Regions from separate parts of the Homo sapiens genome. Here all the other regions are linked to region 2. Evidence: promoter capture Hi-C in 16 types of primary human blood cells and fetal thymus (Javierre and others, 2016). All regions are on one chromosome and are shown on one strand. The core of a region is centred on a gene start or on the middle of the fragment in contact, and the rest is flanking DNA. Distances in the headings are between cores, read along the strand shown. Region 1 has its middle 67 kb from the start of RGS2. Region 2 holds the start of RGS1 (regulator of G protein signaling 1). Region 3 overlaps UCHL5 (ubiquitin C-terminal hydrolase L5). Region 4 has its middle 46 kb from the start of RGS2-AS1. Region 5 overlaps RO60 (Ro60, Y RNA binding protein).

What was found. The method cuts DNA at HindIII sites, captures the fragments that hold promoters and counts their contacts. A CHiCAGO score of 5 or more calls a contact.
Region 1: a contact is called between a fragment that was not itself captured here and the fragment with the promoter of RGS1 in region 2, in 2 of 17 cell types (M0 macrophages and M2 macrophages). The highest score is 7.2, in M0 macrophages.
Region 3: a fragment that was not itself captured here is called in contact with the fragment with the promoter of RGS1 in region 2 in 6 of 17 cell types (M0 macrophages, neutrophils, megakaryocytes and 3 more); the score reaches 10.9 in M0 macrophages.
Region 4: a fragment that was not itself captured here is called in contact with the fragment with the promoter of RGS1 in region 2 in 1 of 17 cell types (naive B cells); the score reaches 5.3 in naive B cells.
Region 5: a fragment that was not itself captured here is called in contact with the fragment with the promoter of RGS1 in region 2 in 5 of 17 cell types (neutrophils, M2 macrophages, fetal thymus and 2 more); the score reaches 11.9 in neutrophils.

Annotation. Positions count from the first base shown.
Region 1 is chr1:192,873,220-192,878,269 of GRCh38, reverse strand. It overlaps the pseudogene RN7SKP126. Among named protein-coding and RNA genes, the nearest start is that of RGS2, 67 kb to the right of the region's middle. The HindIII fragment of the contact is 2,766 bases long and covers 670-3,435 here.
Region 2 is chr1:192,573,271-192,578,204 of GRCh38, reverse strand. It overlaps RGS1 (regulator of G protein signaling 1), which reads right to left and starts at 2,432. Exons shown (of 5, transcript NM_002922.4): 1 at 2,276-2,432; 2 at 1,840-1,920; 3 at 1,370-1,431. The coding sequence starts at 2,412. All of the region lies in intron 3 of LOC105371664 (a long non-coding RNA gene), which reads left to right. RefSeq lists an enhancer at 2,508-2,587. The HindIII fragment of the contact is 3,705 bases long and covers 1-3,514 here.
Region 3 is chr1:193,036,669-193,042,173 of GRCh38, reverse strand. The region is part of intron 3 of UCHL5 (ubiquitin C-terminal hydrolase L5); the gene reads left to right. Among named protein-coding and RNA genes, the nearest start is that of UCHL5, 20 kb to the left of the region's middle. The HindIII fragment of the contact is 4,210 bases long and covers 2,009-5,505 here.
Region 4 is chr1:192,992,026-192,997,344 of GRCh38, reverse strand. It overlaps the pseudogene ZNF101P2. Among named protein-coding and RNA genes, the nearest start is that of RGS2-AS1, 46 kb to the right of the region's middle. The HindIII fragment of the contact is 2,847 bases long and covers 2,161-5,007 here.
Region 5 is chr1:193,070,211-193,075,849 of GRCh38, reverse strand. It overlaps RO60 (Ro60, Y RNA binding protein), which reads right to left. Exons shown (of 9, transcript NM_001173524.2): 3 at 1-30. Among named protein-coding and RNA genes, the nearest start is that of RO60, 13 kb to the right of the region's middle. The HindIII fragment of the contact is 2,294 bases long and covers 2,882-5,175 here.

The sequences.
Region 1 (5,050 bases), core at 803-3,302, 300 kb before region 2:
GGAGCCACCTGACATGGCTTCTGCGGCTCTCCCCAACTCATCAAGCCTGGACCATACTGATTCTGTAGCTTTGTAGCTTTTTGTCCAGCACAGTTTGTGTATCTCATAAGTACTTACTGATTCAAAATGCACTGGATTTAACAGAATTGAACTGCAGATGAAAAAGAGAAAGCTCTGAGAATTTTAAGTATATTGATCAAAGTTGCACAGCGAGTAAGGAGTTGAGTTCAGAATTTGAATTCAGACTGTCTGACTCCAGTGCATTATGTTACCTCCATGATCCAGGTTGAATTAAACAATGAAGTTACTATGAGGAATACCTGTAGTAGACTGGGTGACTAGGAAAGCTCCTGTCTCATCCACACATTGGAATTGTTTAGAACAGTGAAGAAGGCAATGAGACTAGCCTGACTGCCCCTAAAATAGTCTAAATTCTTTATAGTTATCTTGTCATAAAGTAGTGAGAAGGGCCACATACAGAAGCAGGAGTCAGTCACCTCTGTGGTCTTTGCCTAGTAAACTTGCATTATGGTAATTGGCCCAATCTGCTTTGTGGTAAACCACTAGTGCCCTTTTCTCATGGTTTGTTTGTGCACAGAATGTGTCTAGTCTGAGGAACTAAACATATTAGGAAAGAGGGCTCAGTTCAGCTTGCTTCAGCCCAAAGCTTGACTGGTAGCTGAACTCCTAGGAGGTTCCCCAAGCTCCAGTTTAAATAAAAAAATGAAATAGCAAAGATCTTCCAACCCCCCGAAAAAACAAATAAATAATATGTACTCTTGCAATTCTTGTTTTCATTGGAGATCTGGATGAAGATAAGGTGGAAATCATGCCACTGCCTGTTTCTATATGATTTAGAGCCGAAATATAGTCACTGAATTTGGTGTATCTTCAAGAACTGCACTGGAAATTTATAGGCTACACTATAAACCCTGCATCTCATTTCTGAAAACCTGTTCCTGGGCTTGAACTACCTCAACAGATTCCTACAACTGTGGATGATTTTGTTGCAGCTAAGAAGCCTGATGTGCTTTATTCTAGGCATACTTTTTTTTTCTCCCCAAAGAGACTCAAAACAACCCTAGTGGTTCAAAGGCATTCATCAAAGGTAATTTTTTAGAAATGGGATTAATATTGTCACACTCTTTCTATTTGCATTATGGAAGGATTAACTTTGAATATTTATATGAAACCAAATTGTGCATATTTCTTCCCTTCAAGTACAAATTTCCTTAGAAAAGAAGACAGGTATATTAATATCCTGCCTGGCAGTGACTGGAAAAGCAGGAATTCATATAAGATAAAACACACTTATGGCCCTTACTTCTACATTAGGTTATTTTATCATGTGACAGATGGTATACAACAGACTTTAAGTCTGGTTTAGTTCCATGAGCTGTTCGGAGACATCACAGCTGGAGAGCAACCAACCTATTTCAAGGGCTGGGAAAATGCCACATGAGTTCTCTGCAACTCATGGTCCACTATGAGTTTTCAGCAGCAAAATTGTCCAGGGCCTGGGAGAGTCTCAGTACCCAGAGTACTTGCCTTCAAGCCCTCTGAACACACTGTGGGAATTCTGCAGCCACTTGACATGGTGTATGGACAACCAACACACTGGTTGGTATTCACCAAGACTCTTGCCAGGGTGCTTTGTTCTTTTCATTGTGACCATTTATCATAAGGAAATCAGGCAGTGTGTCCTGGTTATATCTGCTTGAAGGCACACAATAAGAAAATAAAAACAAAAGAATCAAAGATAAAATTTTTAAAAAATAAAGAAACTGGGCAGTATGTAGCGTGAAGTGACCAATCCTAGTTTCAAAGTAAGATTTAGGTAGAAAAATAGCAACTCACAAATTGACAGTTTCTGGGATTTGAAGAAAATGACAGCATCTCAAGCAGTCTTGTACTGAAATGGATAGCTGTGATTATCTCTTCTTTGTCTCCTGCAACCAGAGGGAAAGTTCTTAAAGAGATTCTAATAGTCAAAGATCCATGGAGCAACGGACACATCTTTCAGTTAGGATTTCTGGTTGGAATCCAGTTGCTTAGTGTTGAAAAGTGAGTTGTTACTGACCCTCCCACTGGCTGTACTTGACAGTGGAATCTACTGAAACACATCCAGGAATAGTTCAATATGCACCATAATAAAGTATTCACAGAGATTATTATTTTTTTCTTCTCATCTACCTCTTTTTTTCCCTAAAGGAGAGCTGATTTTAATTGGAATTCTAATACAATTCCATTACAGTCAAGGTCTGTAAAGGAAATAGAGGACCTTGCATGTGAGGGCGATCTGGCTGCAACAATCTTTCATGCCATTGATTGTCAGGGTTGATTTGGCTGCTCTGGCTACCTAGGTGAGTCTCCCCTTCCTTCCTCGTTGCTCCATGTGCATCCCTTCTGAAGCTGCATGCTTGGTCAAAGGGGAGGACCATTTCCAAGAGAGGACTGGTCTTTGGTCAAGGATATACAAGTAACTGCACTCCCCTGCTAGAACCTCCAAATAACCTCTCAAGGAAATACAGGACCCACAAGATAAGCCTCCTTCCCATTTTTTGTCAATTGACAGCAGCTAATTTTCTAAGCCTTTTCCTTAATCCTTTGTTTAGAAAGCTATTTCCCTGCTGCTGCTTTTCTGTCTTCTTTTTCCCTAAGATTAAGATCAAAGGCACAGTTCAGGTCACTTATCCTCACTCAACCGAGCTACTATTTTGATTAGAGCGTGAATATTCATTAGATTCTACCAATATGCGATGGCTCGTTAATCGTATTACCCTGAGGACTCATGTCACCTTGTGTACTTCACATTAATCCAGACTTTTTAATTTTGTTCAACTCATCTCTTCAGATAGACAATCTTCCAACTATCTCTTCATCTCTGACATAAAGAGCTGCTAACATTCAGCATTAGATTGAAGGAGAAGAGCAGAGAGCCTGTCTCATACATGAAGAAATTCCCTGAAGTGTTTTGCACAATTTGTATGCATTAGATACTCTATGAGTGTTCATTAAAGGAATGAATGAGAGAATGAGGAAAAGTCAGTATCCAGCTTTGCATCTACTCAGCCACTCACTGGCTGTGTGGCTTTGGGTGAGCCATTTGACCTCTCCAACCTCCATTTCCTTACCTGTAAATAAGTGAGGGGGTCAGATGATTCCTCATTCGCTTTCAATACTTAGGTTAGATATTCTTATCCACTTAACTTTTGACCTACACCCAACACAGCAGGGACTTAATATAGGGCTTGCAAATCTTTCCTAAACCAGCAGCAAAATCCCTAAAGGATGCTTAATGTGCATGTTTTTTTCTAACTACTTCATACAATATCTTTAAACTAGGACTAAGAAGAATTAATGAGAAAAAGTCAAAAGACTTTCAAGTTCCAGTAAGAGGGGAACTTGCCTTTTCTGAGAGGTGCTACCAAAGCTTAATATTTTTGAGAGAAACAAAGAACTCTGGAAGACAATTGTATTTTCATTCTCTCCCTGCAAAAAATATCTTTACAAATCATATTGTAATACTTTTCTGTTTCATCCAATATTGATAAACTACTCAAGCGCATTGACCAGGGCATTTTCAATTACTTTTGTATCCCAAGTACCTAGATTAGTGTCTCATGATAGGTGCTCAATAACGTTGAGCTACACTGTTAAAATGGAGGTTCAGAAAGGCTTGAAATAACTTGCCAGGATAACTTGGCTAGTGGTGGTGCAAGATTATGAAACTATTTTCTGATTCCAGACACACAGCTCTTTCTAATATGCTGCCTGATTACAATGAGCCGTTACCAACCTTTAATTTCTGAGCAAAGACTAGTTATCCGATGGTGGCACCAATTATGAGGACCACATACTGAGTCATTTTGATGGATTTGGGATGCACAAGATACAAGCTGCAGCCAGGGTGGCTCTGAGTAGCCAGGAGTGGGTACGGAGATTCCCTGTCTCAAAAATTTTGTTTAAATGAAGCAAGCAAGGAAGAGATGAGTTAAAATCTCCTACGGCTTCTCAAAAATAAGTTTGCTAGAGTGGAGACTGAATGACCCAAAAGACAATTTGAATTTCAACCCTGGGTGGATGCTAGACTAGGTAAACTGATGTGGAGAGATTTTCTGCTACATTTTTCTTATACACCCTTGAAAACAATGATTTTTTTTCAATCAAAAGAAGTGAGGAATGTTACATAAGTCATTTTGGAAATGGTCTGAAGCAATTTCATCTGAAGCAATAATTACTTCCAGTATGTAACTCATCAAGAAAAGTTGAAAACAGGAAAATAGCAAAACTACTGAGTATAAGAGCCAGGAATTGTGTGAAACAGGATCACTTACTTAATTTTATTTTTTGATGTGACTAATAAACCAAATCAAGCATTGCATCTTGAATTCTGAAAAAAAATGAAGCAAAACAAGTATATATATAAATGCAGCGCATTTTTTTTAGCTTTTGACTTGGTTAAAATTTAATGACATAAAAAAAATTTAGTGATAGATTTACACTATGATTTTGGTGAATATTGTTTCAAATTCATATACATCTCTATATATTGACAAAAATTTTTATCTGACTTATTGTATAATTTTAAAAGTAATTTGCTCTATGCTGTTTTCTATTATTTATGTAAAAACTATAGAAAAAGTGTTTAGAAGGCTTTTTTCTTTCTCTTGTCACTTTTCTTTTAATTTGAAGATGTGATGAGTAGACAGAAACCATGAAATTTGTTTTATAAAAATATTTGTTAAAATTCTTCAGAAATAGAAAATATAAATCATTGAAATAATCTTAAAAGTTATTAAAATTGTTTTCTTTTATATAAGGCAACAACTTGCTTTTTGGTTGCTATTTCAATTCAGATGATACAAAATTTTTTCTTCTTTGAAAAAGAAGCAATTTAAAATACAGCCCTATTATAATTCAAGTTGATTTGTCATCTTAACTCTGCTGTTCTCTTCCATTTACTACCTTTCACCCAAATAGAGTCAGGAAGCACGTGAGCCTACAGCTGAACTTCACTGTAGAAAGTTGTAAGGAAAAGGCCAAGAAC
Region 2 (4,934 bases), core at 1,183-3,682:
GTGGGTGGGGAGATAATTAAATTAAATGAACCAACAAATGAATAATTTGAAGAAGAAATTTGTAAGAAAAATACAATTGCTTCCTATTCATACAAAGGTAAGAGACAGCTACTGCTGAAATAGCTGTGTTATAGATTGTAGAGATGAGAAGTCATTTGAAATTTCTTCATTCATAGAAGAGGAATCTGGGGCCAGACAAACTCATTCATAGTCACATTGCTACTTGATGGTGGCTACCAAACTGTTTTGCTTCTATCCGCGGTTTGAATTGAAATTCTGCTCCACTGAATATAAAACCATCTTTTATATATGCCAAATCTTAGCCAGAGTAGAGAGTATTTTAGGAAAGCAAACACTGACAAAAGGCATTAACATCACAATAATTAGTAAATATAATTTCCCCATCTAATTTATATTAGCCAGAAAATGTTAGGCCTATATATGATCTGTAGGCCTGATGTACTAATTATGTTTGCTAGCATTCACTGAGACTTTTATATGGCACCATTTATGGTCCATATCTATACCATTTATTTGTTTAGCTGAATTATAAACAAAGTCAGCTGAGCTAGAGTGAACAATGTGATTCCCAAGTAAAGCTCCTTAGGGTGTCTGTGGGGAGAAAAGAATAATCTCACTCTTTAGAGATAGAGACCACACTGCTCATCTACACCTCTGAAAAAGGTCCTAATCTCAGTAGAATTGTAATGCCCAAGACAAGGGGATGGCAAGCTGATTTCATTCTTTACCTTCTCTCATCAGAAAATCTCCACAAGACTATATGTGCTTAAAAATCCTTCTATCATATTTATGTCATAAAAACTATCATGTTATAATAATGCAATTATTTATGTTATGTATCTCAACCACCTTCAAGGCAGTAAGAGACTGTCTTTGATTTTGAATCCTTGGTACCTCTACAATGTCCTCTACATAAGGGTGAGATGAATGATGAATGTATGAAAGATAATTTAATTAATTGAATGAATGAATCATACTTGTTACATCCAAGTGTAGAAAAATACATTCTTTAGGCAGATTTCAAAATGGCAATGTACATATTAAAATATTTGGCTTACTTTTAAAATTTTTACATATCAGAATCCCAGCACAATGTTTAATTTTATCTCCATAATGATCTATGAAAATACCTAATTGTCTTGGCAAATTTGTCTAAAAGGAGTTGGCAGAATTGAGTGCTAAGTCAGCATTATTAAGAGGCATACTATGCTGAAGTTATCAGTAACTACAGACAAACTAGAATACAACCTTTTGCATACTATCCTACCCAGAATACTATATTTAGTGAAGCCATTCAATTTTTTAGAGTATTTAGCTGAACCCAGAAACATTCAATAGTTATACTTACTTTGGTTGGCAAGAAGTTTTTCCAGAGATTGAGACCATTGCATTACTTCAGCAGCAGAAAGTCTGCAGGGGACAAAATGTACATACATTAGTCAATTTTTAAAATGTAAGCACAAATGAAATAAGAATGGCTGTTACACTTTGATAACTTCACAAACTGAAACTGTAGTTCTAATAAATATGTTAAAATTTATTCACAAAATGCAAAACTTCCCTTAGAGTTACTATAGTTATGAAAAAAAAAACCTGCCAATAAAATTTGAAAAAATCCAAATAGATAAAGTCCAATATGTGTGTGTACACATTTGTATTCAATTTACATTGGTACTGATAGTCTAATTTTATTTGGCATGTTACTTAAAAGAAATGAAGTCTACTGTGCGCAGTATTTATCCCTTGCTGGGATATAGAGATAATGCATAGGCTTCTCTTGTAAATGATAATGATAGTTTAGTGTATTAGTGTACTTACACATCCTTGGACTTGGAAGATTTCATTCCAGATTCCAGATGTGGGATCATAGATCTCAGGTATGCTTTCATATCCATTCCACTACAAAAGACATAAAAGTGAATATTCATATTTCTTCAGAATTCATTTTATTTGTAAAAAGACATAGAATAAATTTCTCTAAGGAATAAGGCAATACTAAAAATGGTTGATACAACATTTTGCTATAGAACCCATTTTTATGAGCCTGTGTAGAGAAAAACTCCTACCCAATTTAATGCCATATCAAGATTTATTTTTTAATGCAGCTGAATATTACTTATTACTCACAACAGGCAATTAACTCCTCTGATCTGGCTAAACTAAATGCTCACACTCTCTTCCATTCATTCTCAATCCTTCTGCCATTAAAGATAACTTGTTAAAATTCACAAAGTGAGACTCTGAACAAACTTACAAAGTCTTTGGCCTCCTTTTTTGCATTTTGTCGTCTAGAAGTGAATGAGTGGTTCCTTTCAATTCCTTTGGGTTAGCAGAGAAGAACATTCCTGGCATTTTGTCTAACTTTGGAGTGGAGATGGCTGCTGCGCGCATGGTGCTCTTAGCAAATATGCGCTAGTCAACGTCTCTGCTGCTTTATATAGTAGAATGCAGACAGGCACTTGCTGTTTAAAGGAGTCTGTTTATCAAGTGATGTTACCACAGACACTGGAAGTTCCCCTTTTCTTGGTGTGCTGTGACGTGTATCTTGAAAAAAAAAAAGCATACAGTGGTGTCTTGTGGTTGAAACTTAACCAAACGAGAACAGGTCACTTGATTAGAAAGAAAGAAAATTAAACATACAGAGGTACACACACATATGTCACATGTCTAAAGCATTAACAGCATCAGTCTTTGGTTCTGGAGGATGTTTGTTTATTTTAAAAAAGTTGCATGTTTCAATAAACTGTTTCATTTGGCGTATTAATTTATCATATAGAAACTCACATAGAAATTCATCACATAGAGTTGTATCTTACTCCATGCTTTGGATAGTCCTTGACTATAAAATTCATCTGATCAAAATATTTTAAGAGTTCTCTTCTTTTCTGCAGGAAGCAGGGCAAAGTAAACAAATAATTTTTGTTTAATTATTTTGCACATATCTGATAGGAGGGAAAGTTATAAGAGGCTATCTTCACATTTTCCCACTCCAATTCTCATCCCTTATTTCCATGGCAGGAAATTTCCATGTTAATATTTTCCAAGGTGTGTGCTAGACATCGACTGGCAATACATAGGATGATTTTAAGGGGTGCATGGTTTTTAATATTATTTTCATATTTATTAAGAATATAACTAGTATATCAAACTTTGATTTTTGCATATTTTGCATATTAGGAAAAAATAAAGTTTAATTAAAACCAATCATAAATAAATAAATGTTTAATTGTATACAAATATGACATAATTTGTAAACATACTGATACCAAGGTCACAGTATCAGAGGAAAAACTGCTCAAGGTAAAATAAAAGTCTATTTGGATAGACCAATAATGTGTACTTCTTAGGTAATGATCTTTCACATTTTGGCAGTATCTCTGGAGAGATAACAGTTTTAGCTTTAATTGAGATTAAAGTTTAAAACACAAACAAAACTCAAGGAACTAGATGACTAATCATTTATAAGGATAGAGAAGTTAGTAAAATATAAGCTTTCAAAAGTTTATATAACAAGTGTGGCTTATTTATAGAGTACCCAGTTTAACTTAAGCCTCCTTGGATTTTACCCCTGGAAGGACAATACTTTCCTTTAAAAGGACAAAAAAGCATTTACTTAGTGAAGCTTCTGATGGTATTAGGTAAAGCTGATAAAAGGGAGGGGAGTATTAATTTTTCTGTTCTGGTTCTATCGTCAGGATAAAGAATATTTGAAGAAAACACATTTACAATATTATAAAATTCACTTATACACAGTCATTAATTTCATTATAATGAGCTCATTATATTGTATGTAACAAGCATCATTTTATGTTGGGAAGATAACATAAGGCATTAAGAAAGATAACTGGTGAGATGAGCTGGCCACTTTGGAAGTGACCCTAATGAGACCGATGAAACTCAAAGACAGATGACATAAAGGCATTTGGTTGTATACTTCCTGTGGTTCAGTCCATACTTAATTTCCTGTTAAAATCTTCAACATTGCTCATGTTTGTTGATCTAGTATCCTCTCACTCCTCTAAATAATTGTGAGTAAGTTATGTTAGAGTAAAATGATTTAAAAATTATTTTTAACAGCCCACTAGTATTATCATCCAAATATACTGACAGTTTCCAAAGAACAAGAGCAGCAGCAAAAATTATGGGGCCAAGTAAGTTTGGGAAATGTTGGACTCCTAACTTGTTAAAGAACTAAACCCTCTTTAGATAGGGAAAATAGTTTTTTGAAATAATGTGTTTTTTTGACACTATGTTAAGAAACTCTGGTCTGAGATCAAAATAAGTTTTTGCCTGTAGTGTATTTAGGAACTGCTCTGATGCTCCCAACATTTTGCTACCCCTATCCCAATATACATTTTGAAGCGCAAGCATTTACAACTGCATGCTTCCACACTTGAATAGAAATATAAACTCTTGAAAGAGGGAGTCCTTTCAAAATTCCTGTATCACAATTGGCTGATGAGGTCACCTTAGTCATGCAATAAAGCAGCTGCTCTCTCAGAGGCTGTTTGCTCATCCACCCAAAGTCTGTGTGTTCCAGAACAAGGCAAATTTGGTCAAGTTGTATCAGCAAGTGTGACAAGTGCATGGCAGGGCATTGAAAGTTCCCTATTAATTTTAAAGAGAGTGCCACTATCTGGCCCCTCTTTGTAAACTTCACTAAGAAAAGATAAACTGTCAAATTGTAACTTTATTGAATCAATGACTTTGGTTGAAATAGTAGAGGATTTCAAAAACGTCAGTAGAAGAAACAGTGGGTCTCACGATCTGGGTTTCAGTTTTCCCTCTTTGAAACTGTGCTAAAACATCTAGGTTTGAGTTTCTAGGAAAAGGAATACTTCATGTAGTCTTAGTGTTATCTTTTTTTTTAAAGAAAAATTAATGGACTTCATTTTTAGGGAAGTTTTAGGTTT
Region 3 (5,505 bases), core at 2,864-5,363, 460 kb before region 2:
ATTTTAACTTGATAAAAAGTATCGTGCTCTATATACATTTTGGGAGTGTTTTTTTTTTTCTTTTTTTGGAGACAGGATCTCGCTCTGTCACCCAGGCTGGAGTGCAGTGGCATGATCACAGCTCATTGTAGCCTCAACCTCCTGCCTCAGCCTCCTGAGTAGCTGGGACTACAGATGCACACCACCATACCCTGCTAATTTTTTATATTTTTGGTAGAGACAGAATCTCATTATGTTACTCAGGCTGGTCTCTAACTCCTAGACTCAAATGATTCTCCCATCTTTGCCCTCACAAAGTGCTGGGATTACAGATGTGAACCATTAAGCCTGGCCTACTTTTTTCACTTAATATTATATTGTTAAGATTCATCCATAAGTTTATTATGATAGTTCATTTATTTTGCATGCTATATGATACCAGCTGCACTAACATGCTACAGTTTACTTAATCTTCTGTAGTTTGTTCTTTGGGTTTTCAATTTGAGTTACTGTGAATTGTGTTGCTGTAAACATTTTTTGTACATGTGCAAGTTTCTCCTGGTGTATACCTAGAAGTAGAATGAGTATTTCATCTAATATGTAAATGTGCAACTTTTGAAGGAAATATCCAAACGTTTTCTGAAGTAGCTGTTCAAATTTGCATTTCCACTAGCAATGTGTAGGAGTTGTTACAAAGCCACATATTATAACACGTGGCATTGCTAGGCTTTTAAATTTTTGTCAGCTAATTGGTTCCAAAATGCTACTTCATTTTTGTCTTGGCTTATGTCTCCCTGATCACTAATCATGTTGAAATGCCCTTCATGTGCTTAGTGGCCATATGTATTTCCTCTGTGAAATTCTTGTTTATGTTATTTTTCAATGGGGTTAATTATGCTTTTTTTAAAAAAAATTTATTGATACATAGTAGATGTACATATTTTGGGGATACATGTGATAATTTAATACCTTCACATAATTTATAAAGATCAAATTAGTATAATTGGGATATCAGTCACCTTAAATATTTGTCTTTATGCTAGAAACATTCAAATTATCCTCTTATAGCTATTTTGAAATATATGATAGATTATTGTAAACAATAGGCACCCTACTGATTTGTCAAACACTAGGTCTTCTTTCTTCTGTTAAACTGTATATTTGTACCTATTAATGAAACTCCCTTCATCCTCTTCACCACCCCACCCTTCCCAGCCTCTGGCAACCATCAGTCTACTTTCTATCCTGAAGATTTGCTGTTTTAGCTTTCACATGTGAGTGAGAACATGAGATATTTGTCTTTCTGTGCTTGGCTTATTTCATTTAACATAATGACCTCCATTTCCATATTGCTCCAAATAACAGGATTTCATTCTTTTTTATGGCTGAATAATCTCACATTGTATGTATATACTACATTTTCTTTATCCATTCATCCATTGATGGACACTTAAGTTGATTATATATTTTGGCTATTATTAATAGTGCCATAATAAAAACAAGGAGTGCAGATATCTCTTTGATATATTTATTTCCCTTCTTTCGGATCTGTATACCCAGTAGTGGATTGCTGGATTATACAATAGTTCATTTTTTAGTTTTGCATAACCTCCATACAGTTTTCCATAGTAGCTATACTAATTTACATTTCTACCAATAGTGTTTATGAGGGTTCCCCTTTCTCCACATCCTCACCACTTATCTGTCATTCCCTTTTTGTTAAAAGCCATTTTAACTTGGGTGAGATGATAACATTGCGGTTTTGATTTGCATTGCTCTGATGATTAATGATGTTGAGTATTTTTTTATATACCTGTTGGCCATTTGTATGTCTTTTGAGAAATGTCTATTCAGATCTTCTGTCCATTTTTAAATCTGATTTTTTTTATCTTCTCCTGTTGAGTTGCTTGAGCTTCTTATATATCCTGGTCGTTAATCCTTTATAAGATGGGTAGTTTGCAAATATTTTCTCCCATTCTGTGGGTTGTCGCTTTACTTTGTTGATTGGTTCCTTTGTTATGCAGAAGCTTCTTAGTTTGATGTAATCCTATTCATTTATTTTTGCTTTTGTTGTCTGTGCTTTTTGAGGTCTTACTAAAAAATTTTTGCCCCGACCAGTGTTCTGGAGATTTTCCCCAATGTTTTCTTATAGTAGCTTCATAATTTCAAGTCTTATATTTAAGTCTTTAATCCATTTTGATTTGATTTTTGTGTACGGTGGGACACTGGGATCTAGTTTCTTTTTTCTGCAATGGTTATCCAGTTTTCCCAGAACCATTTATTGGAGGAACTACCCTTTCTCTATTGTATATTCTTGGCACCTTTGTTGAAAATGATTTATCTGTAAATGCATGGAGTTATATCTGGATTCTCTATTCTGTTCCATTGGTCTATGTGTCTGTATTTATGCTAGAATCCTGTTGATTTGGTTATTATAGCTTTGTAGTCTATTTTGAAGTCAGATAATGTGATTCTTCCAGTTTAGTTCTTTTTGCTCAGGATTGCTTTGGCCATCTCGGGTCTTTTGTGTTCCGTATAAATTTTGGGATTGCTTTTTCTGTTTCTATGAAGAATGCCGTTGGTATTTTGATAGGGAGTGCATTGAATCTGTCCATTGCTTTCAGTAGAATTGTCATTTTAACAATATTAATTCTTCCAGTTCATGAGGATGGAATATCCAGTTTTTGGTGAACTCTTCATCAGTGCTTTATACTTGTCCTTGTATAGATCTTGCACTTCTTTGGTAAAATTGATTCTTAGGTATTTTAGATTATTATTTTTTTTTTGAGACATAGTCTCACTAGGTCACCCAGGCTGGAATGTAGTGGCACGATCTTGGCTCATCTCCACCTTGCCTCCCAGGTTCAAGCTATTCTTGTGCCTCAGCCTCCTGAGTAGCTGGGATTACAGGCATGTGCCACCATGCCAGGCTAATTTTTGTATTTTTAGTAGAGATAGGATTTTGCCATGTTGGCCAGGTTGGTCTCAAACTTGAGGCCAGGTTGGCCTCAAGTGATCTGCCCGCCTTGGGCTCCCAAAGTACTGGGATTACAGGCTTGAGCCACTGCACCTGGCCTACTTTATATTCTTTGTAGCTCTTTTAAATAGGATTTTTTTCTTAATTTCTTTTTCAGATTCACTGTTGGCATATATAATAGCAGCTGATTTTTGTATGCTGATTTTATATTCTTCAACTTTTTTGTTTTTGAGACAGGGTCTTGCTCTGTCTGGAGTGAAGTAGCACAATCATAGCTCACTATAACCTTGTGCTCCTGGGCTCAAGCAATCCTCCTGCCTCAGCCTCCCGAGTAGCTAAGACTACAAGTGTGCACTAGCACAGGTGGCTAATTTTTAGAATTTTCTGTAGAGACAGGGTCTCATTATGTTGACCAGCTGGTCTTAAACTCCTGGGCTCAAGCATTCCTCCTGCCTCAGCCTCCCAAAGTGCTGAGATTACAGGTGTGAGCTACTGTGCTTGGTTATATCCTGCAACTTTACTGAACTCGTTTATCAGTTCCAAGAGTTTTTTGGTGGTCTTTAGGTTTTTCTAAGATTATGTCAGCTATGAACAGTGCTAATTTTATTTCTTCCTTTCCAGTTTGGATGCCTTTTATTTCCTTCTCTTGCCTGGTTGCTCTAGGCAGGACTTGCAATATTACGTTGAATAAAATGGTAAAAATGATCATCCTTGTCTTGTTCCTGATCTTAGAGGAAAGACTGTGGTTTTTTTTTTTTTTTTTGAGATGAAGTCTCACTCTGTCGCCCAGGCTGGAGTGCAGTGGCGCGATCTCGGCTCACTGCAAGCTCCGCCTCCCGGTTCACGCCATTCTCCTGCCTCAGCCTCCCGAGTAGCTGGGACTACAGGCGTCCGCCACCATGCCCAGCTAATTTTTTGTATTTTTAGTGGAGACAGGGTTTCACCGTGTTAGCCAGGATGGTCTTGATCTCCTGACCTCGTAATCTGCCCGCCTCGGCCTCCCAAAGTGCTGTGATTACAGGCGTGAGCCACGGTGCCCGGCCTAAGACTTTAACTTTTTTTAAATTCAGTATGATATTAGCTGTGAGTCTGTTTTATGTGGCTGTTATTGTGTTGAGGTATGTACCTTCCATATCCAGTGTATTGAGGGTTTTTGTCATAAAGGCATGTTAAATTTTATCAAATGCTTTTTCAGCATCTGTTGAAATAATTAGGTAGTTTTTTTCTTGGTATCACATTTATTGATTAGCACATATTGAACCATCTTGCATCCCTGGATGACTCTTACTTAATCAAGGTAAATGACCTTTTTTTTTTTTTTTTTTTTAATACTTTAAGTTCTAGGGTACATGTGCACAACGTGCAGGTTTGGTTTGTTACATATGTATACATGTGCCATGTTGGTGTGCTGCACCCATTAGGTAAATAATCTTTTTAATGTGGTATTATTTAATTTGGTTTGTTACTTTTGAATTTGGTTTGTTACTATTTGGTTGAAGATTTTTGCATCTATTATCATCAGTGATACTGGTCTGTAGTTTTTTTGTTGTGTCCTTGCCTGGTTTTGGTATCAGAATAATGCTGATTTTGTAGAATGGGTTGGAAAGCATTCCTTCTTCTTCAATTTTTTTGAAGAGTTTGAGTAAAATTAGCATTCATTCTTCTTTAAATGTTGAGTAGAATTTAGTAATGAAGTTGTCACATCCTGGGCTTTGCTTTACTTTTAATTATGGCTCTGATCTCATTACTTGTTATTAGATTCTTTAGATTTTTTTATTCCTTCCTGGTTCAGTCTTGGTAGGTTGTATGTATCTAGGAATTTGTCCATTTCTAGGTTTTCCAATTTTTTTGTATATAGCTGTTCATAATAGTTTCTAATGATTCTTTGTATTACTGTGATTTCAGATGTTATGTGTCCTTTTTTGTTTCTGATTTTATTTATTTGGATCGTCTTTCTTTTTTCTTAGCCTGGGTAAAGGTTTGTCAATTTTGTTTACCTTTCCTGAAGATTTTTCATTTCCTTGATCTTAATATTGTTTTTTTAAGTCTCGATTTCATTGATTTCTGCTCTGATCTTTATTATTTCTTTCCTTCTAATAATTTTGGGTTTGGTTTGTTCCTGCTTTTCTAGTTCCTTGGGGTATATAATTAGGTGGTTTATTTGGAGTCTTTCTACTTTTTTGATATTTTCGCTATGAATTTCCCTCTTAGTATGCTTTTGCCATATCTCATAGATTTTGGTATGCTGTATTTCCATTTTTATTTGTTTCAATGCATTTTAAATTTTTTTCTTATTTTCTTTATTGGCCTATTCATCATTTAGTAACATGTTGTTTAATCTCTATGTGTTTGTGTAGTTTCCAAGGTTTCTATTATTGATTTCTAGTTTTATTCCATTGTGGTCTGAAGAGAAACTTGGTATGTTATTTTACTATAAATCATATTATTCAGTGATTTATTGAGAACTTGTTTTGTGGACTAACATGGTCTATCCTCGGTGTATGCTGGATATCCATATGCTGATGAAAATAGTGAAAATAATGTGTATT
Region 4 (5,319 bases), core at 2,335-4,834, 420 kb before region 2:
CCCTGCTACTTTGAAGTTTTATCAGCGTTTGGGGGCTAGTAAAGTGCTTCCTGGAACTTGGGAATTAAGGAAATGAGACTACATTCTGAAAATTAAATTGAAAGGTTAACACCTAACACATACAGCATAAATACAGAAAATCACTAAAAAGAGGTAGGCCACTCCTAGGCAATTTGAAAGTGACTATAACTTAGAAGTTACAAACTTCTACATACAGGGTCAAGCAGGTAATATAAAGGGGTAAAGGTGACCAGGTAGTAGCAAACTAAATAGGAAGTAATATTCTCTCACAAATATGTGTACTTTTCCCATTTTTCTTGACAGGTTGGTACCTCTTTGTCCAATTTTCTGTTTTCCCTCATCTGAGAGATAGAACAATAAAGATTTGTTTTTCTTTCGAGTTTACTATTGGGGGATGGAAGAACACACACAGGTTAATGGCAAGTGACACGTGGCTGGAGTGGCAGGGACTATGGCAAACAGGAGAACACACACTCTAGCTAGATGGGGCAGCCATTCCTCAGGTGTAGTTGATTGTTGCCAGGTGAAAAGAAAAGCCCAGTTTTGTCAGATAGTCTCGTTTTTTGAGAGAAGCCAAAAATCTAGATTCATTGAAGTTTTCCAATTTGTAAATGTTGTGTTCAATTTCTTTAAAACACTGAAGGCCAAAGTAAACAATCTGTGAGTTGAATTTGATCCAAAGTCTCAACTTTGCAATCTATGCTATAACATATTTGAAGATATTAATATTTTATGACATATCTAATTCAAGAAGGAGCTTTCAAAAAGGAAAGGTCAACTATAGAAGTGAAGATATAATACAGTCATAGTTATATTGAAGTTTGTCTAGAGGAAGTCTTATCCATTAAATGCCTGAGTATTTCTGATCTCAACACAGACAATTCCAATGTTAAACTCACTTCACATTATTTGGATAAACCTAATTTGTTCCTGCTATAGTAGGCATTTTTCTATATTGTTAGATTTTATTTGCTCAAATTCTTTTTAGGATTTTTGCTACTGGATCATGAGTAATATTGGCCTTCATTTTGCCTTTTTCATACTATTTTGCATGAGTGTTGATGCTAAGGTTATGCTGCCACATTATGAGTCTGGTAATTCCATTATCTAAAGTCTTAAAGGATCCAGTCCGGGCGCAGTGGCTCAAGCCTGTAGCCCCAGCACTTTGGGAGGCAGAGGTGGGTGGATCACTTGAAGCCAGGAGTTTGAGACCACCTTGGCCAACATGGCAAGACCCCATCTCTACTAAAAATACAAAAATCAGCCACGCATGGTGGCGTGTACCTGTAGTCCCAGCTACTTGGGAGGCTGAGGCAGGAGAATTACTTGAACCTGGGAGGCGGAGGTTGCAGTGAGCCAAGATTGCATCACTGTACTCGAGCCTGGGCAACACGAGTGAGATCCTGTCTCAAAAAATAAAAATAAAGTCTTAAAGGATCTGTTTTTTATTTTTGTGGTTTTCTCAAGTTGTCTTTGTGTGTGTGTGCAAGCGTGTGCGTGTGTGTGTGTATGCATGTGCACCTTCTTATCTAATGGTCTTGAGAAATTGTTTGTAGGAATATTTTGAGGCTAAGATAAAGGTACCTTCCTCCAAAGAAGACTTACGTTCCTTATACCAGGGAGCTGAAGTCTCAGCAAGTTTGGGATACCCTTAATCTATGTTGAAGACCTGAGGTTTCCTGGCTGACACAAGTGATGAAAACCTGGACAACAAGACTATGGTTGAAAGGCTGGTTTAAGTATTGTTGTCCCTAATCCTAAATATGTAGTCTTTTGGAGTCCCAGTGTTTTTTTTTTTTTCTTTGTAGTGAGGGTCTCCAAACAGACTGTTATTTTGTGAGAGACAGAGCTTTGATTTCTATTCCTTTTGACCTGAGAGGTTGTAAAAATGAAAGTTTAAAATTTCAGAGTTTGGTAGATGCAAACACATCTTTCATATTCCCTTGATTCTCTTGGTTGTTCTTTTCTCTTCTCTGTGGCCTGGTAATTCCATACTATCTTATTTGTACCTTGTTCTTTATTTCATCTTATTTTTAAAAAGTTGTTTTAAGCAGGAGATTTAGTCGGCTACTGGGCCAGCATTACTAGACACTGAAATTTCTTCTCTGTTCATTTCTACAGTGTAAAAATTTTCAAGCTTTACTACTGGTTAACAATTATTTTTCAGAAATACGAATTTCAAGAAAAATAGAAAAATAACTTGTAGTTGTTATCTCTACAGTAGTAGTGTTCTTTGTGTTTTTATGTTCCTTGATTACTAGTGGAGTTAATCTTTTGTGTGTTTAGTGGCCACTTATATTTCTTTTTTAATGAAGTACCTGTGATATACTTATTTTTCTTTTGGTATGTTAATATTTTTGTTATTCATTTGTAATAGTTTCTGATATTAAGAAATGTTGGAGTCTAAGGAAAGCTGAAATCTTATTTCTAATGCTTTTCTACCATCCAATTTTCCTATCAATAAGAAGGAGGAGCAGTGATATTGATGGCATAAGAATAAGGATATTTAGGCATGGGCCCCACTCGGGTCCGGGTTTCAGTTCCTTGGGGAGGCCCCTGGTGTCCAGATACCACAGCTTCTGTCACGTGGAACCTGCTCCGGCTGCTCCAGCCCCAGGGAGGACCCAGGACACCCAGAAGCCGGAAATGGACTCAGTGGCCTTTGAAGATGTGGCTATGAACTTCACCCAGGAGGAGTGGGCTTTGCTGAGTCCTTCCCAGAAGAATCTCTACAGAGATGTGATGCTGGAAACCCTCAGGAACCTGGCCTCTGTCAAAGTCTGGGTGAGAGATTCTGTGGACATAAAGAAGGGAGTCAACATGGTGAACCCTTCAGCCAGATTCCTGATTGTCACCTGAAGAAGAAAAGTCATACTGGGGTAAAACCATGCAAATGCAGCGTGTGTGGGAAAGTCTTCCTCTGTCATTCATTCCTGGACAGGGACATGAGAGCTCACGCCAGACAGAAACGCTACCAGTGTGATGGGGAATGGGGAGAGAAGCCCTGTAAACAGAAACAATGTGGGAAAGCCTCCATTTCCCCCAATAGTGGTCCAAGGCGCACAGTAACACCAACTCAAAAGAAACCTTATGAATGCAGGGTGTGCGGGAAAGCCCTTAATTCTCCCAATTTATTTCAAATTCATGAAAGAACTCGCACTGGAGAGACGGCCTATAAATGTAGGAAAATCATGAGAGCCTTTACTATTTCCAGTTACTTTCGAAAACATGGAAAAATGCACACTGGAGAAAACCGCTATGAATGTAAATACTGTGGAGAACCTTTTGATTATCCCACTTTATTTCAAATTCATGTCATCCTGGAGAAAAACCTCACAAATGTAAAGAATGTGGTACAACTTACGTTCAGACACATGAAATCAGAACTCACGCTGGAGAAATCCCACCAATGTCAGGAATGTGGGAAGAAACTCAGTCGTTCCAGTTCCCTTCGCAGACATGAAAGGACCCATAGTGGAGGAAAACTCTATGAACGTCAAAAATGTGACCAAGTCTTAGATGTCCCATGTCCCTTCAAGCACATGAAAGAGCTCATGCTGGAGAGAGACCTTATGAATGTAATAAACGTGGTAAAACCTTCAATTATCCCAGTTGTTTTCGAAGACATGAAAAAACTCATAGTTGAGAAAAGCCATATGACTGTAAAAGGTGTGGTATGGCCTTCGGATGTGGCAGTTCCCTGAGGAGACATGAAATGACTCACACTAGAGAAAAACCCTTTGACTCTAAACAATGTGGTAAAGTCTTTACTTTTTTAAATTGCCTTTGACAACATGAAAAAAACTCATTTAGCCAGGCGCAGACAGTGCTTTTGGAGGCTGAGGCAGGGGGATCACCTGAGCCCAGGAGTTTGAGACCAGCCTGGGCAACATAAGAAGGCTGGGTATTGTGGAGATGGACGATGTAAATTGAAGAATGCACACTGGATGGAAATGTTAGTAGTCTGGAAAATACAGGAACGTTTTCAATTTTAACAATTACTCTATTTATTATTATTATTATTTTTGAGATGGAATCTCGCTTTGTCCCCCAGGCTGGAGTGCAGTGGCATGAACTTGGCTCACTGAAACTTCTGCCTCCTGAGTTCAGGTGATTCTCCTTCCTCGGCCTCCCAAGTGGCTGAGATTACAGGTGTGCACCACCATGCCCAGCTAATTTTTGTATTTTTAGTAGAGATGGGGTTTCACCATGTTGGTTGGGCTGGTCTCAGACTCCTGGCCTCATGTGGTCTGCGCGCCTCTGCTTCCAGAGATGCTGGGATTGCAGGCATGAGCCATCATGCCCGGACTAGATACGTGTTTTACATGTCTTTTTACAGAATATATAACATGCAGCACCGTGAAGAACAGTCTTCATATCCCTTAAGAAAATCTGTGGCTTGGGTGTGGTGGCTCACACCTGTAATCCCAGCACTTTGGGAAGCTGAGGTGGGAGGATCACTTGAGCCCGGGAGTTTGAGCCCAGCCTGGGCAACATGGCAAGACCCCTTGTCTCTGAAGGAATGCAAACAAATTAGCCAGGTGTGGTGTGGTGGTGGGTGCCTGTGGTCCCAGCTGCTCAGGAAGCTGGGGCCAGGGGATCGCTTGGGCCTAGGAATTCAAGACTATAGTGAACTATGATCCTGCCACTGCACTCCAGCCTGGGTGACAGAGCAGGACCCCGTTTCTAAAAAAATATATATATATAAAGTCTGTGAAGTTTGTGCTTAGACAAAGACTTGTTTGGATTGCCTCCTGGAGAAAGGTTTATGAATTTGACAGTGTTCATATGTCAGAACCTTAAGTTGACTCTGTGGGTGAGAGACCCTTTCAGATGAAAATGAAAGTCTTGAAGTCTTGAAGGAGGGGGTATTTCCACACTGTGAGGGAGAGGTGGGCATGTTAACTTCCCAGAGTTAAATTCTTACACGTCCCTGCCTTGGCAATGGGGCTGGATCTGCTCTGGGGCTCCATTTCAGCCCAAGCTTGGGAATGTGTTTTGCCTTCTGAATGTGAGTTTTCCTTGTGAACTGTGGGTGCAGCCAGCTGCTTATCTAAGCGAGTTCAAATCTCTGTAGGCAGACAGGTAGAGTCTCCCGGGATTACAGGAATCCAATCAACTTGAGCAATCAGCCTAGTTTACAGCCTACTGCTAGGCAGCCTCTTCTTCCCCAAATCCCGGGTGGAATGCGGTGACCTTCTTTCTTTAAACCAGCTCTTTGTTTGTTTGTTTGAGACGGAGTCTCACTCTGTCACCCAGGCTGGAGTGCAGTGGCATGATCTTGGCTCACTACTACCT
Region 5 (5,639 bases), core at 2,779-5,278, 500 kb before region 2:
TTGTAATATATTTGGTCACAATTGCAAGTCCTTTAACAAGATAAAGAATTGAAAAAGCATGCAGGATTACCAAGTAAAAAAACAGAACATGTTTCCTCAAAATGCATTATATGATCAACATAACTGGATACACAAGAGTTAATGCCCTTACACTGGGATGCTGCTTTCCATGATATAACAATTAAGCAAATGGGGTGAATTAATTTTCTTATTCCATCATTACTATTTAAATATGAGACTTTAGAGTAAAAAAACCTGTATCCTGAGTATTTTGTTACAGAGGCTTTTCTTTCTTTTCTTTTTAAAGACACCAGCATTAGAAAGTTTCAGGTCCATAATCTCAGAACAACTCACGAGAGTACAGATCTATCTCAATTAATATTGTATTGTATTGTAATGTATTATATTATATTAATTATATTCACTTGTCTCTTTTTGCTGTTGAATAAAATATATATATTTACAAAAACAGCAGAAATAAGTAGAAGTGGACAGGGTAGCTTCTTTTACACTATGTTTTAATAGCTGAGAAGTATTACTGCTCAAAAAAAAAAAAAAAAGGAAACAGTAACTTGTTGATTTCCTCCACAATTTCTTCCAATAGAAGAAAGAGAAAAGAGCCTTGGATTGGGGGTGAGAAAGTCTGGGTTCTAGCCTATACTCTGCCAATAAATGGTGGTCTTTCTAGGTCTTAGTTTCACCACTTCTGTAAAACAGCAGGGATTGGATTACAACATTAAAATGTCTATGAGGGACAAGCAAATAAAATAAATAAAACCACCACGGTGAGGCCAGGCACCATGGCTCATGCCTGTAATGCTAGCACTTTGGGAGGCCAAGGAGTGTGGATCACCTGAGGTCAGGGGTTTGAGAACAGTGTGCCCAACGTGGCAAAACTCCATCTCGAAAGCTGAAACTGGATCCCTTCCTTACACCTTATACAAAAATTAATTCAAGATGGATTAAAGACTTACATGTTACACCTAAAACCATAAAAGCCCTAGAAGAAAACCTAGGCAATACCATTCAGGACATAGGCGTGGGCAAGGACTTCATGTCTAAAACACCAAAAGCAATGGCAACAAAAGCCAAAATTCACAAATGGTATCTAATTCAACTAAAGAGCTTCTGCACAGCAAAAGAAACTACCATCAGAGTGAACAGGCAACCTACAGAATGGGAGAAAATTTTTGCAATCTACTCATCTGACAAGGGGCTAATATCCAGAATCTACAAAGAACTCAAACAAATTTACAAGAAAAAAACAACCCCATCAAAAAGTGGGCGAAGGATATGAACAGACACTTCTCAAAAGAAGACATTTATGCAGCCAAAAGACATATGAAAACATGCTCATCATCACTGGCCATCAGAGAAATGCAATTCAAAACCACAATGAGATACCATCTCACATCAGTTAGAATGACGATCATTAAAAAGTCAGGAAACAACAGGTGCTGGAGAGGATGTGGAGAAACAGGAACACTTTTACACTGTTGGTGGGACTGTAAACTAGTTCAACCATTGTGGAAGTCAGTGTGGCGATTCCTCAGGGATCTAGAACTAGAAATACCATTTGACCAAGCAATCCCATTACGGGGTATATACCCAAAGGATTATAAATCATGCTGCTATAAAGACACATGCACACGTATGTTTATTGCGGCACTATTCACAATAGCAAAGACTTGGAACCAGCCCAAATGTCCAGCAATGATAGACTGGATTAAGAAAATGTGGCACATATACACCATGGAATACTATGCAGCCATAAAAAGGATGAGTTCATGTCCTTTGTAGGGACATGGATGAAGCTGGAAACCATCATTCTCAGCAAACTATCGCAAGGACAAAAAACGAAACACTGCATGTTCTCACTCATAGGTGGGAATTGAACAATGAGAACACATGGACACAGGAAGGGGAACATCACACACCAGGGCCTGTTGTGGGGTGGGGGGAGGGGGGAGGGATAGCATTAGGAGATATACGTAACGTTAAATGACGAGTTAATGGGTGCAGCACACCAACATGGCACATGTATACATATGTAACAAACCTGCACGTTGTGCACATGTACCCTAGAACTTAAAGTATAATAAAAAAAAATTAGCTGGGCGTGGTGGCACATGCCTGTAATACCAGCTACTCAGGAGGCTGAGGCAGGAGAATCACTTGAACTGAGGAGGCAGAGGTTACAGTGGGCCAAGATCGTGCCACTGTGCTCCAGCCTGGCCAACAGAGTGAGACTCTGTCTCAAACAAACAAACAAACAAACAAACACAGTGATGTAATAGAGAGTTGTTAGGGTGTGGTGACTGAACAGAGTGTGCCCTGACAAGTGGTGTAGACACGTATTGACTTAGTGCTGCCAAAAGAAAAAAAACTTACTTTCAAGAGAAGCCAGAATATGGGTTTTTATGTCGATTTTTAAAGATAATGACAAAGAATTCATTTTTACCCAAAAATATTGTATAGGCCACATGAAACACATCTCTATGCCAACTGAGCCTATTATGTTATTTTTGAATGCTAAATAACTTGATCAAAAGTTAACACTAACATGCAGGAACTTCTCAAGTATTGTGACTCTTGCTATCTTCCAGATTTTGGTGCAAAATCATCTTAAATGAGTAAATGTTTCCTGTGAGTATATCTTCTATTTTGTTTTTCCAGTGAAAATAAAAATTCCTTAAAGCAGTTTTATCCTACCCGGTTCTGTAATTGCGCTGGCCATGCAGTGGGTGCACAATAAAAATACCATACCTGATGACTTGAATCACATTTTGACTTGTTTTGTCTGTTATAAATACACATTACACTTAAAGGCATTAAAATACTATTAATTCTGTAGCTTAGAGTTTTTCCAAATTTTTAAGCTTTGAAATGCTAGGGATTCTCTGTCCAATGTGATATTGCTATTACTAACATGGTTTCAACTGTGAGTTCTGCCCTCAACAATTTCAAATTAAAGAATCCTATGTGTGGAAGTAAGTTTAGGAAACATCTACTAATTCCTCATTATATAGACCAAAAAGACAAAGCACAGAATAATTATTTTCACAAGTTCAGAAACTAATTGGTCCAGTTAGAACTAGTAATGGGCGGTCTTTCTCTTAGTCTAGTACTTGCTCCACACTTCCAAGACACATCTCAACAAACCAATAAATAAAGCTGGATGCCTAAGTCCTTCTTATGTTGGATCAAATATTTGGATAAAAAATTTAAATGTAAAAAATAATGTTTCTTAACCAAGAAAATGTTAGGAAAAAACCACAGATAAATATTTTAGGTTGGAAAAGGCCCTTCTAATCCTAACACAAAACATAAACCTATGAAGACATGGATAAATTTGACTACATTAAAATTCAAAACTTTAGTGTGCCAGAAATGTCCCCCAACCAAAAAAAAAAAAGACAAAGAAAAAAAAGAAGAAAAAATGCATGCACTGTATATAAATAATACATTATCAACTCCTCTAATATGAACCCCAAGTTCTTAGAACAGTTTCTATCCATAGTAGGTGCTCAATAAATATTTGCTGAGGGCCAGGCACAGTGGTTCATGCCTATAATCCCAGCACTTTGGGAGGCCAAGGCAGGCGGATCACCTGAGGTCAGGAGTTCGAGACCAGCATTACCAACATGGTGAAACCCTGCCTCTACTAAAAATACAAAAATTAGCAGAGCATGGCGGCAGGAGCTTGTAATCCCAGCTACTTGGGAGGCTGAGGCAGGAGAATTGCTTGAATCTGGGAGGTGGAGGTTACAGTGAGCCTAGATTGTGCCATTGCACTCCAGCCTGGGTGACAAAAGTGAAACTCCATCTCAAAATAAATACAACAAATAAATAAATAAATATTTGTTGAATGAATAGTGATCACAATCAATAGTTAAAAAGACAGTAACTAAGTGGACAAAAGGGCTATGATGTAATTGTATAATTATACATATATACACACACATACATATATATTATATATACATACATATAATTATATGCATACATATATAGGTATATATATGTATATAGGTATATATATATTACATACTATACTATATACTAACATTATATATTATATATACTATATTATACAATATATAGGTGTATATATATATATAATCAGCACATGCAAAGATGAGCTTCTGCCCAAAAATGTAAATTCAAAGAATCTTTCATGATTCTACTGAAAGAGATTAAAAAATAATGACAACAGTTAAGTGTTCAAATGTGGGTACACTGATCCCTTTCACATACTGTTTGTGGATTTAACCATTATGAAAGTAGGTACTCTATGCAAGTGTTTTCATTGTAGTATTTTTGTAACAGTATAAAAAAACCAGAAACAACTCTTGTCAATAAGAGACTAGCTAATAAATTACAGTCATACAATGGTATATATGCAACTATTTCTACTGACCTGAAAGAAACAGCAATAGCAATAGCAATAATATACTTTTTACTGAAACATAGAAGGCATGTAACAAAATTTAGTGAAACACAGTAATATATGTTTAGGAAAAATCTGGAGTAAATTACAACATCTGATATACAGCAAGGGCCCTCAACTCCCAGGCTATACACGGATACCAGTCCGTGGCCTGTTAGGAACTGGGCTGCACAGCAGGAGGTGAGCAGCAGGCAAGTGAGCTCCACTTCCTGTCAGATCAGTAGCTGGGCATTAGTCTCATAAGAGCACGAATCCTACTATGATCTGAGCATGTGAGGGATCTAGGTTGCGCTCTCCTTATGAGAATCTGATGCCTGATGATCTGAGGTGGAACAGTTTCATTCTGAAACCACCCTGCCCTCCCCACTGCCTGCGGAAAAACTGTCTTCCACAAAACCAGTCCCTGGTATCAGAAGGGTTGTGGACTGCTGATATGCAGTTATTTCTTTTGAAGAGTAGGACTGCATCATATTTTTCTGTATTATTCAACTATTTTAAAACATGTAATCTAATAAAATCAAAATAAAATGTTTATACATATAAATATTTGCAATTTATTATTTACATTTCATTTGAAAAACCCCAGTTATAGTTAAAAAATAAGTCAGGAATTACTGAAGAGATTCTGTATATAAAAATATGTGTGGAAGGGAGAAATAGAGAACCAAAGTGTACTTCTACTACATGTTAGGTGCTGGGACATTTAGTCTCAATAATTGTAAGCTTATTCTCCTTACCCTCCTTTTAATAGATGAAGGTCAGAAACTCAGCTTAACTTACTTGGCTTAAGTCCACAGAACTGAAATGTGAACCCACCCTTCTGAGTGGCTGTCTTTTCAAGTTTCACTTCCGGTGCAAAAAAAAAAAAAAAGTCAAATTTTGAACATGTTGATTTTTGTGGAACTTCACACTTCAAATTACTCCTGCCCAAGAGTTTTTCTTATTTCTTTTCTTAAAAGGACTAGTAATTATTACGGAGCCAACTAACTTTTCAAAAGTCTCTTTCCATAGATACAGAAAAACTGCCCCAAGTTATTATGTCCCCTGACTAACTGCCTGAAGACAATTAACTTCCTGAATTGTTAAGTTCAGCACTATATCTGGTATATTCCTTTAGGTTCCATGGAAGATGGGTTCCTAGGAAGATGGGGAGGGAAAAAAGGAATGGGCTAGAGCAGTGGGTACAGCA